2 separate regions of the Homo sapiens genome follow, and region 2 is linked to region 1. Evidence: promoter capture Hi-C in 16 types of primary human blood cells and fetal thymus (Javierre and others, 2016). All regions are on one chromosome and are shown on one strand. Each heading gives the region's core, a stretch centred on a gene start or on the middle of the fragment in contact. The rest is flanking DNA. Distances are from core to core; before and after follow the strand shown.

What was found. The method cuts DNA at HindIII sites, captures the fragments that hold promoters and counts their contacts. A CHiCAGO score of 5 or more calls a contact.
Region 2: the fragment with the promoter of DRAXIN here is called in contact with the fragment with the promoter of C1orf167 in region 1 in 1 of 17 cell types (neutrophils); the score reaches 7.9 in neutrophils.

What each region holds. Positions count from the first base shown.
Region 1 is chr1:11,759,072-11,763,811 of GRCh38, reverse strand. It overlaps C1orf167 (chromosome 1 open reading frame 167), which reads right to left and starts at 1,619. Exons shown (of 21, transcript NM_001010881.2): 1 at 1,507-1,619. It also overlaps the pseudogene LOC101060126. The HindIII fragment of the contact is 5,648 bases long and covers 1-3,385 here.
Region 2 is chr1:11,690,386-11,695,340 of GRCh38, reverse strand. DRAXIN (dorsal inhibitory axon guidance protein) reads right to left here and starts at 3,631. Exons shown (of 7, transcript NM_198545.4): 1 at 3,488-3,631. It also overlaps a transcript of MAD2L2 not described here. RefSeq lists enhancers at 4,316-4,823, 4,824-4,955. The HindIII fragment of the contact is 12,625 bases long and covers 1-4,462 here.

The DNA of each region.
Region 1 (4,740 bases), core at 370-2,869:
GAGCACTGGGCGGAGTGGCCCTCACCTGCCACCTCCCAACTGGTCACCCTTATTCTGCCTCGTCCTCACGCCCGACAGCCTCCTCTTCATGCGGCGGCAGGGTGATCCTGTAAACACTGAAATCAAATCATGCCCTGCCTCAACTCTAATGCCACAGAAGCTCTCCAGCCCCCTCAATGCCCCGTGAGCCTTCAAGGCTGTAGGCCAGAGGTTAGCAAATTACTGCCTGGGCCAGTGGTCTATTATGTGAATAAAGTTATATTGAAACAAAGCCCATTTGTTTACAGACTGTCTGCTTTCCAGCTGCAATAGCAGAGCTCAATAGCTGCAAGATACCTTAGGCTGCAAAACCTTTTTTTTTTTTTTTTTGAGCCGGAGTCTCACTTTGCCACCCAGGCTGGTACAATGGCGTGATCCCGGCTCACTGCAACCTCCGCCTGCCTCCCTGGGCTCAAGGGATCCTCCCACCTCAGCCTCTAACAAGCTGGAACCACAGGCACATGCCACCACGCCAGACTAATTTTTCTATTTTTTGGTAGAGACAGGGTTTCACCATGATGGCCAGGATGGTCTCGAACTCCTGACCTCAGGTGATTGGCCCGCCTCGGCCTCCCAAAGTGCTGGGATTACAGGCGTGAGCCACCACACCCAGCCCCGCAAAGTCTTTAAAATCTGGCTGCCAGTTATGGTCCTCCCCAATTCCTCTTCCCCTTGCCCACTGTCCTCCACACACACCAGCCCCCTGGCTGCTCCTCCAAATGGCACACACGACCTCACCTCAGCGCCTCTGTGCTGCTGTCCCCTCTGCCTTCAAGTCTTGCCTCCCACATCACAGTGAGCCCTCCCTGCCCACTGTCTCTCCAACTGCAGCAACCTGGCCTCTCCTCACTCTCTTTGCCCTGCACTTGCGGCCACCTAACATAGTGAAGAAATTAGTGTATTTCTCCCTCCAGTGGCCTAGGAGCCACACGAGGGCAGGCTGGTTTTTTTTGTTTGTTTGTTTCCCTGCTGGATTTGCAGCCCATAGAACAATGCCTGACCCCCAGCAGGGGCTTGTAAATGCACATTGAATAAATGACAACCGTGCTAGGCACCTTGCAGCCTTCAGCAGGCGTCCTGCCATTTAATCTGCACTGCAGCCCTGGGACTTAGGTTCCCTGTTTTAGAAATGAGGACAGGAGCTTAGAAGGGCCTGTCCCACCCAAGGCCTCAGAGGGAGCACCCCAGGGCTGGCTCCACAGCGCAGACTCCTAACCAAGAACACCCCACCATCCCCTCTTGCCCAAGTTGACTTGAGGCCGCTCAATCCACAGGAGACCTTCCTGCACCCCTGCCCCTCACGCCGGAGCTCTTCGGTCCATTTCTCCGCTCCTCGTCCGTCTCCCTCAGACTCCCCCCTCCCACTCCACCCCCACCCCTGTCCACTTAAGGGGGCTCACAGCCTCCCTCCTCTTGCCACCAAAAGAGTCTGAGGTCAGTTTCCTGCCCTCATGGATCTGCCCTCACGTGCGTGGGTCCTCCTCGGGTCCTCCTTCACCCAGTCGGATTTGAATCTAGACGGGGGCTGGGACCGCTAACGATCCCCGCAGGTCGGCAGGTCGCGGGCGGGAGGGGACGTCGGAGAGCAGAGCGTGCTGCCCCGCGCTTGGCCCCGCCCAGCCCTGAGCCGTGGGCGTGGCCACCGACGTCCTGGTACAGGTTTTGCCGGGTCCTCCGCAGGCAAGGCACGTGGTCCCAGGGCAACTTTTGCACGTGCAAGATGAGCGACATTCTCTTGGCCATCAGGTCCCCGGGAACCTCCTCCACCCTCTGCCCCGAATCCTGTGGCAGCATCACTGGGGTCTGGGCTTCCTCCACCAGGCGTGCCTCCTCTTGGCTCCTTCCCGCACCTAGAGCTGCCTCCTGGAGCCCCCGCACATCTGGGATACCCCCAGCCATGTCCCCACCACCTATGCCTCTTGGGGCTGCAGGACATGCCCCCGGCTCCCACTGGTAGGAACCCCAGGGGCAGGACATCCGGGTCATGGACACTCACATCCTCACCCGTTCCCAATAGGTGCGATGTCCCATCCAGGGATGTCTCAGATGCAGCTGGCAAACCATGGCCCTCATGGCTGAGGACACACCCGTGATGGGACCCCAGGATCTGGGGGGCAGCCACCACCCTGATCACCACCTGGAATGCCTCATCCTGGACCTCCTCCAATGAGCATGTCCCCCAAGGGGTCTCGGTCTGGATCTCCCATGGGTCACTCACGTCCTATGCCTCCATGGTATGTGTGGACCTCCTCCACCGATGCTGCCTCATGGATACACTGGCCCTCCCCAACACCCACCCTATGGCTTCCGGGGGGGACTCTCCCTCCACCCAGACCCACTCCGGGGCCTCCAGTTCCCCCTCAAGGCCCACTTTGGGGCCCTCTCCCTCAGTAAATTCACATTCTTCTTCCTCCTGTTATATCTTCCCAATATCTTTTTGATTCCTTGGACCAGAGATGCTGCAGCTCCTTGCAACTAAGGCACAAATCCCTTTCAGCCTTCCCATCTTCCTTTTTAATGCCATTTTTTTCCCCATAGAAGGTATTTCTTTTTCATGTTGGTCCTAAGTATTTTGCAAATGCAAAGGAAAATAAAACTATAACAAATTTCTTGTTAAAAGAAAGAAAGAAAGAAAGGCTAGGCACAGTGGCTCACACCTGTAATCCCAGCACTTTGGGAGGCTGAGGTGGACGGATCACAAGATCAGGAGTTCAAGACCAGCCTGGCCAACATGGTGAAACCCTGTCTCTACTAAAAATACAAAAATTAGCCGGGCATGGTGGCGGGCACCTGTAATCCCAGCTACTCAGGAGGCTGAGGCAGGAGAATCACTTGAACCTGGGAGGCAAGGGTTGCAGAGAGCCAAGATCCTGCCATTGCACTCCAGCCTGAGCAACAGACCAAGACTCTGTCTCAAAAAAAAAAAAAAAAAAAAAAGAAAAAAAGAAAAGAAAAGAAAAGGCTGGATGTGGTGGCTCATGCCTGTAATCCCAGCACTTTGGGAGGCCGAGGCAGCCGGATCACTTGAGGTCAGGAGTTCAAGACCAGCCTGGCCAACATGGCAAAATCCCATCTCTATTAAAAATACAAAAAGTAGCTGGTGTGATGGTGTGCACCTGTAATCCCAGCTATTCAGGAGGCTGAGGCAGGAGAATTGCTTGGACCTGGGAGGTGGAGGTTGCAGTGAGTGGTGATCATGCCACTACCCTCCAGCCTGGGTGACAGAGTGAGATTCTGTTTCAAAAAAGAAAAAAAGAAAGAAAAGAAAAGAAAAAAAAGAAAGAAAAACTCTCCCAGCCTTCAGGCACCTCAGAAACTGGCTGGACTCCACCTTAATACCCAAGCTTTGCCGTGCCGTCAGCCTAGCTCGATCACACTTCCTTCAAGGCTGCAAAGGTCCGTCCACTTTCCACCTCCCAAACCTTTGCCCACATTGTTCCCCACTGTGCCCAGCCATCCCACTCCTTCCTCTGTCCAGACTGTATGTTTTCTCCTTTCTAAGCACCTGCTGGGAGAGGAAAGAGCACTCAGTCAGAAAACCTGTGATGAACTCCTTCTGCTGGCCAGGCGCAGTGGCTCACACCTGCAATCCCAGCACTTGGGCAGGCTGAGGTGGGAGGCTCTCATAAGCCCAGGAATTCAAGACCAGCCTGGGCAACATTGCAAGACCTCATCACTACAAAAAAAAATACAAAAATCATCCGGCTGTGGTGGTGCACACCTGTGGTCCCACCTACTTGGGAGGCTGAGGCAGTAAGATTGCTTGAGCCCAGGAGTTCAAGGCTTCAGTGAGCTACGATCATGTCACTGCACTCCAGCCTGGGCAACAGAGTGAGACCCTGTCTCAAAAAAAAAAAAAATCCTTCTGCTGCTGTGTGATCTTAGGCAAGTCCCTAACCTCTCTAAACCTAAGGTTCCTCATATGTAAAAGGGGGATGGTTAGGCCCGATGCAATGGCTCACGCCTGTAATCCCAGTACTTTGGGAGGCCAAGGTGGGTGGATCACTTGAGGTCAGGAGTTCCAGACCAGCCTGGCCAACATGGCGAAACCCCGTCTCTACTAAAAATATAAAAATTAGCTTGGTAGTGGTGGTGCGTGCCTGTAGTCCCAGCTACTGGGGAGGCTGAGGTAGGAGAATCTCTTGAACCCGGGAGGCAGAGTTTGCAGTGAGCCAAGATTGCGCCACTGCACTCCAGCCTGGGTGACAAGAGTGAAACTGTCTCAAACAAAACGAAACAAAACAAAACAAAACAAAAGTGGTGGGGGTGGTAACACCTCCCTCCCCTACCTCTCTGCCTTGATGTGAGGGTCAGATGTTTAACAAATAAATGCCAAAGAACTTTTTAAATGCTAAAGCAATTCTTGAAGAAGGAGGGGGTGATTACTGCTCCCTTTATAGGTCTGTGTGTCTAATCTTTCCTCCTAAATCTGGTGGATGGAAGCTTTTGTTCTTTAGGTTTATTTATTTTATTTTATTTTATTGTTTGTTTATTTATTTATTTATTTGAGACGGAGTTTCGCTCTTGTTGCCCAGGCTCGAGTGCAATGGTGTGATCTTGGCTCACCGCAACCTCCACCTCCCAGGTTCAAGCGATTCTCCTGCCTCAACCTCCATAGTAGCTGGGATTACAGGCATGTGCCACCACGCCCGGCTAATTTTGTATTTTTAGTAGAGACGGGGTTTCTCCAGTTGGTCAGGC
Region 2 (4,955 bases), core at 2,382-4,881, 70 kb after region 1:
TCCCAAAGTGCTGGGATTATAGGCATAAGCCACTGCACCTGGCCTGAAGTGGATAATATTTTTCAGATGGTAATAGCAACAATGGCTGTGTAGGAACATTAAGACAATGACCAAGGGACTTGCCTAAGATAGCCTAGTAGAGCAAGTGATAGAGCTGGGATTCGAACCCACAGCCATCTGACTCCTCAGACTCATCATCCCTGCTCCATCACATTCCTGGCCGAGACTGCTCCTCATGCTGCCATCCAGTAACCAACACCAGTGCAGCTGCTGTGAGTCCCAGGGAAGGTGGCATGAGCTGGGGCCTGACCCAGAGCCTGGTACACCTGAAAACCATTAAGTCCTGCAATGAGCTCCTTCCAGTTGCTCTGGGTTCTAGCAGGAGCCTCATCCCTCATAACCACCCCTTCAACCCCATCCCATCAAGAGAAGTCTTGGTGTTGGGGCATGGGTGGGTCATGGTGTTGGGGCATGGGGCGTTGTCAAGCTGGAACCTGGGGTGGCAGAGCCTCTACTGGCAAGGATTCAGCCATCCTCCCACAACCTTCTTCTTCTTGGGGACCACTGGCCACAGCGACTCACCCCTGAGAAGGAAGGCTGGAGTAGGGCATGCAGAGAGGGCCAGCGGAGCAAGAGGGAGGCAGCTCCAACCCACTGGGCCAGAACAGGGGTGCTCCTATGACCTGCCCCCCAGGAACATGCTCATGCCTCTGAGGGAAGTTCGGGGAGGCTGGGATGCAAGTCCCTGCTCCATCACATTCCTGGCCGACACACGTGAAGGAACTCCCTCTGGGTCCCACAGCTGCTAAGTGATCAGCTGGGCTTCAAACCCAATCTGCACGGCTGGGGTGAGCCACTTCGTTCTCTGGTCTCAGTTTCTACCCCTATAACAGGCACAGAGACCACCCTCATTTTCCAGAGTGATACAGGGCCTCAGTATCACAGGGGTTTCCGGGCAGCTTGCTCCCCCTCCAACCTCCCCAGCCAGAGGGCCAGCTCCGCCCTGGCCCCACCAGCAGGACCCAGCAGAACTCAGCAAGACACTGGGGCTTGCAGTTTTCAGTTCATTCCTGTGCCTTTGACCAGGAATCACATTCAATATAACAGGTGTGCACAGAGCCCCTACTGCGTGCCAGGCACTGGGACCACAAGCAGAAGGAGACCCAGCCCCCACCCAGGGAGGAGCAGACCCCTCCCAGATAGGGATTATGCCGTGCAGTTCACAAGAGCTAGGGAGGCAAGGGAGTGCCGGGGTGCTTCCCACAGGAGAGGACATCAGACCTCCTTGGTCAGCAAAGACAGAGGGCTGAGATCAAACACAGGGCAGGGCAGAAAGAGCCCTAGCAAAAGCTCAGAGGAGGGCAGACTGTGGAGATGGTCAGTTCTCCATCGTGGCTGCAACCTGGGACGCAGAGGGGACAATGCTGGGAGGCAGGCAGGACAGGGCTAGGCTGGGCTGAGGTCTCTGTAGTTAACTGAGTGGCCACAGTGAGCCACTGAGGACTATGGACTGGGAGGGCGATGAATTGAATAGTGGGGAGGAAGGCAGCGGAGAGAGCAGAGAGGACCTGAGCAAGGTTCCCAAGCCTCTGAGCTGGCTTTGCTGCAGAAGGCAGGGGGTAGAGATGGTATGAAGGGCCGGGTTCACCAAAGTAGGGCCTGTCTGCCAGGTCGGATTTCGAGCAGGAGCCTGGATGGGGGATGTCGTGGGGATATCCAGCCGTTCTTGCCTCTAAAGAGAAAGGTTCCAGTTGCCAGCCCTGGCTGTGGCTGAAATAAGAACTCAGCCAGGGGAGCCTGGAACCTGCCAGCTGGGAGGTTTCCCTCTTCTGAAGTTGCCCTCATTAAGACACTCAGGCCACGTCACTGCCAGACTCCTGGAGTGGTGTGTCACATGTTATGACCACCTAGACAGTGGTCAGGGGGCTTGGGCAAGCACACAGCAGGTCCAGGAGCCAGCAAGACAATCCCCTCAGAGGAAAGGAAGTGGCCTGTGAGCTGGTGCCGCTATTAAAGGCATCAAGCCAAGACTGAGGTTCAGAATTGGGGGTGAGTCACCGGACGCCTTCTGATGGGTGATCAGTTGTTGGCAACACCAGCTCAGCCACACTGATCTCATTTTGAAAAAAAGTGACCCATTGGCCCTGATTGTTTTAGCTGATTTTAGGACAAGCAAAGAGGAGGAGAGAGAGAAAGAGAAGAGTGCTTGCAAGGGTGTGGACGCCTGTATGGGCACGAGGAGGTGAAGGTGACAGGAAGTGTGATGGGGGAAGAGGCTGTGGTGGTGGGGTTACTCTGAAGTGTCTCTAAGCCTTGACTTTGAGATCCATTTCTGTGGAGCCCCCTGTCCCCACCCCATCCCAGGTCTGTAGACTCCCCTCCCCTCCCCTCCCTTCCTCCACAGGGTGTGTGAACCAGCACCAAGCGGCACCCCACAATTTCCACACACATCCCTATAGGTAGGGACTAGCACCATCCCTGTTTTGTGACAGGAACACTGAGGCTCAGAGAGGTGCATTCCTTTGTCCGAGATCACTCCCAGAGCCCCAGTGTACCCGACTCCAGATGCATAGTACTGAACCGGTTCCAGACACCAGTGTGTCACTGGGCTGGGAGGTGGGCAGCGTGGAGGGAGCATATAGGGCAGGGGAGACCACCGGGCGGAGAGGATGGCCCAGGGAGCACCCAGCTGAGGAAAGCAAGAAAGACTTGGCGGGAAACCCCAGCCCTCTCTCATCTCATACCCCGGCCCCGAAGGCGGCTGAGACCCTTGACGAGCGGACGGAGAAAAGCCAAAAGCCGGCGGTGGGGAGCAGGAGGGACAGAGCGGGAGACCACAGGCGAAAGACCAGCGCCGTCGGGGGAGCCAGGCTGAGTACCTTCCTGGGCACAGATGGGACGGCGCGGGGCCACCGGCGGTGCTGGTTCCGGGCGCACTCAGCGACCCCGGCCACACACCCCAGCCTCCTGGGCGGCCTCGAAAGGGGCTGGAGGGCACGCCCGCCAGCTCTGCCCGGGGCTCAGGGAGTCTTCGAAGACTTCTTCCAACGGTGGCGGACTGGGGCCCCCTGCCTGAGAGACCACCCGGAGACTCAGAGACAGAGAGACAAAGGGAGACTGGGTCAGGGAGAGAGAAGGCTAGTGCCGAGGAGAGTAGGTGCGAGCCGGGACCCCAGAGGGCGGCGAGGGCGCGCGCGAGGCCGAGTGTCAGAGCGTGGAAAAGTGGGCGTCCAGCGGTAGGTGGACGGATGGGGAGCCCGGGAGCAGAGCCAGGGTCCGTGGGCAGACGCGGCGAGGAGAGGAGGCGGCGGAAGGACTGGCGGATAGACGGGTCCGAGGGCTGGGAAGGAGGCAGCATCCTCACTTCCAGCCTCGGGACCCCGCGCACCCCGCCCCTGGGCGCGCCAGGTAGCCCACCTTTGTCCGGGCTCGCAGCCAGGTGGGGCGGGAGGGGCGGAGCCAGGGGCGGGCCGAGGCCGTGCCTTACCTGTCCGGCCGGCGGGTAGGGGGAGGAGGGGCTCGGGGCCGAGCGCCCGCGGGAGCCGAGCGCAGCCGAGGGCGAGCCGCGGAACGGGGCCGGCGTGGAGAGGTGCGCGGGCAGCCGGAGGATGTGCCCGGGCTGAGCGGGACTGGAAGGAAGGGGGAGTGGGCGGGCAGGAGGGAAGGGGGCGGGAGCGCGGGGAGGGGACAGAGGAGGGGCGGCGGGTGGCGGGCTCGACTGCCCCCAGCCGAGGGGCAGCCCCGGGGCCGGGCCCGGCGCGCACCCGGCCAGCGCGCCCTCGCCAGCTGCGCTCTGAGTTCTGGGCCAGCTCCCCAGAGGCCTAGGCGCCGCCGCCGCGAGGGCGCGGGGCAGACAAAGGAGGCAGACAAAGGCGGGCGCAGCCCAGCAGCCGTGCGGGCACCGGGCGAGGCAGGCCCACTCCTCCCGGTGCGTAAGAGCCGCCTCGGCGCGGCCCAGGGCGCGTGGGACGGGAGGGGCTCCGGCAGTTGTGGCGCCTCTGGAGCGGCCCCGCGCAGGGCGGGCGACAAAGGGCCGCGGCGGGCGGTCCTCGGTGGACCCCAACAATGGAGCGAGGCTGCGCGCTCAGCTGCGGCCGCGTCTGTCAGGGCAGGGGCCCGGGGCCACAAAAGGATTATTCCGCCTAGACTGTCAAAAGGGACGGAAGAAATGCCCAGGGCGGGGGAGGCGGGACGGGGAACGGCGGGGCCTTTGTAGCCGCAGAAAGTGCGCAGAGTGGGCAGGCGGGGTTCTCCGAGAGGTCGCTCCTGGATGTAGGGGTACAAAGGGTCTTCAAAGTGCTACCAGCTCACCTGGGGCGCTGACGGCGCACCTGTGCCCTCTTTCCCGGTAGGGAAGGGAGAAAGACAACCGCCCCAATACACACACACACAAACACACACACACACACACTCACACGCGGCGCGGCTCTCGCCACGCCCCGTCCAAAGCCGGCCTGAAGCTTCTCAGACCGGCCCAACCCGGACAAAGCCAGCGCTGGGGCCGGCTCATCCATCACCGCGCGGGGCGCCGTGTCCTGACGACCCTGGGAGTCTGAGAATGCTGGGTTATGGGTCCCGTGCCTCCCATAACTCACGACGGGGTCGGTGGGGCCACGGACGCTGCAAAGATCAAAGAGCGATGGGGCCGGACTCCCATATGTGGGAAGCAGCGCTCCCACCTGGCGCCCTGAGCTCGCCAGGTGGCTTCCATTTCGACTGTTTTCTTTCTCCAGCGTGTGGCAAATTATGACTTTGAGGTTTTAGAACACAGTTCTGCCGTCAGGCTAAATGTCTGTGTTCCTCTTCTGATGCCGTCCCCTATGACCTCGAGCAAGTCGCCTGACCTCTGAGCTCATGATTATACCTAAATTTCAGTGTTCTAGGCGTGAATGCAGTGCCCTGTGTAAGGAGATAACGTTTCTAAGGTCTGGCCCATAGGAAATGCTCCTGTAAAA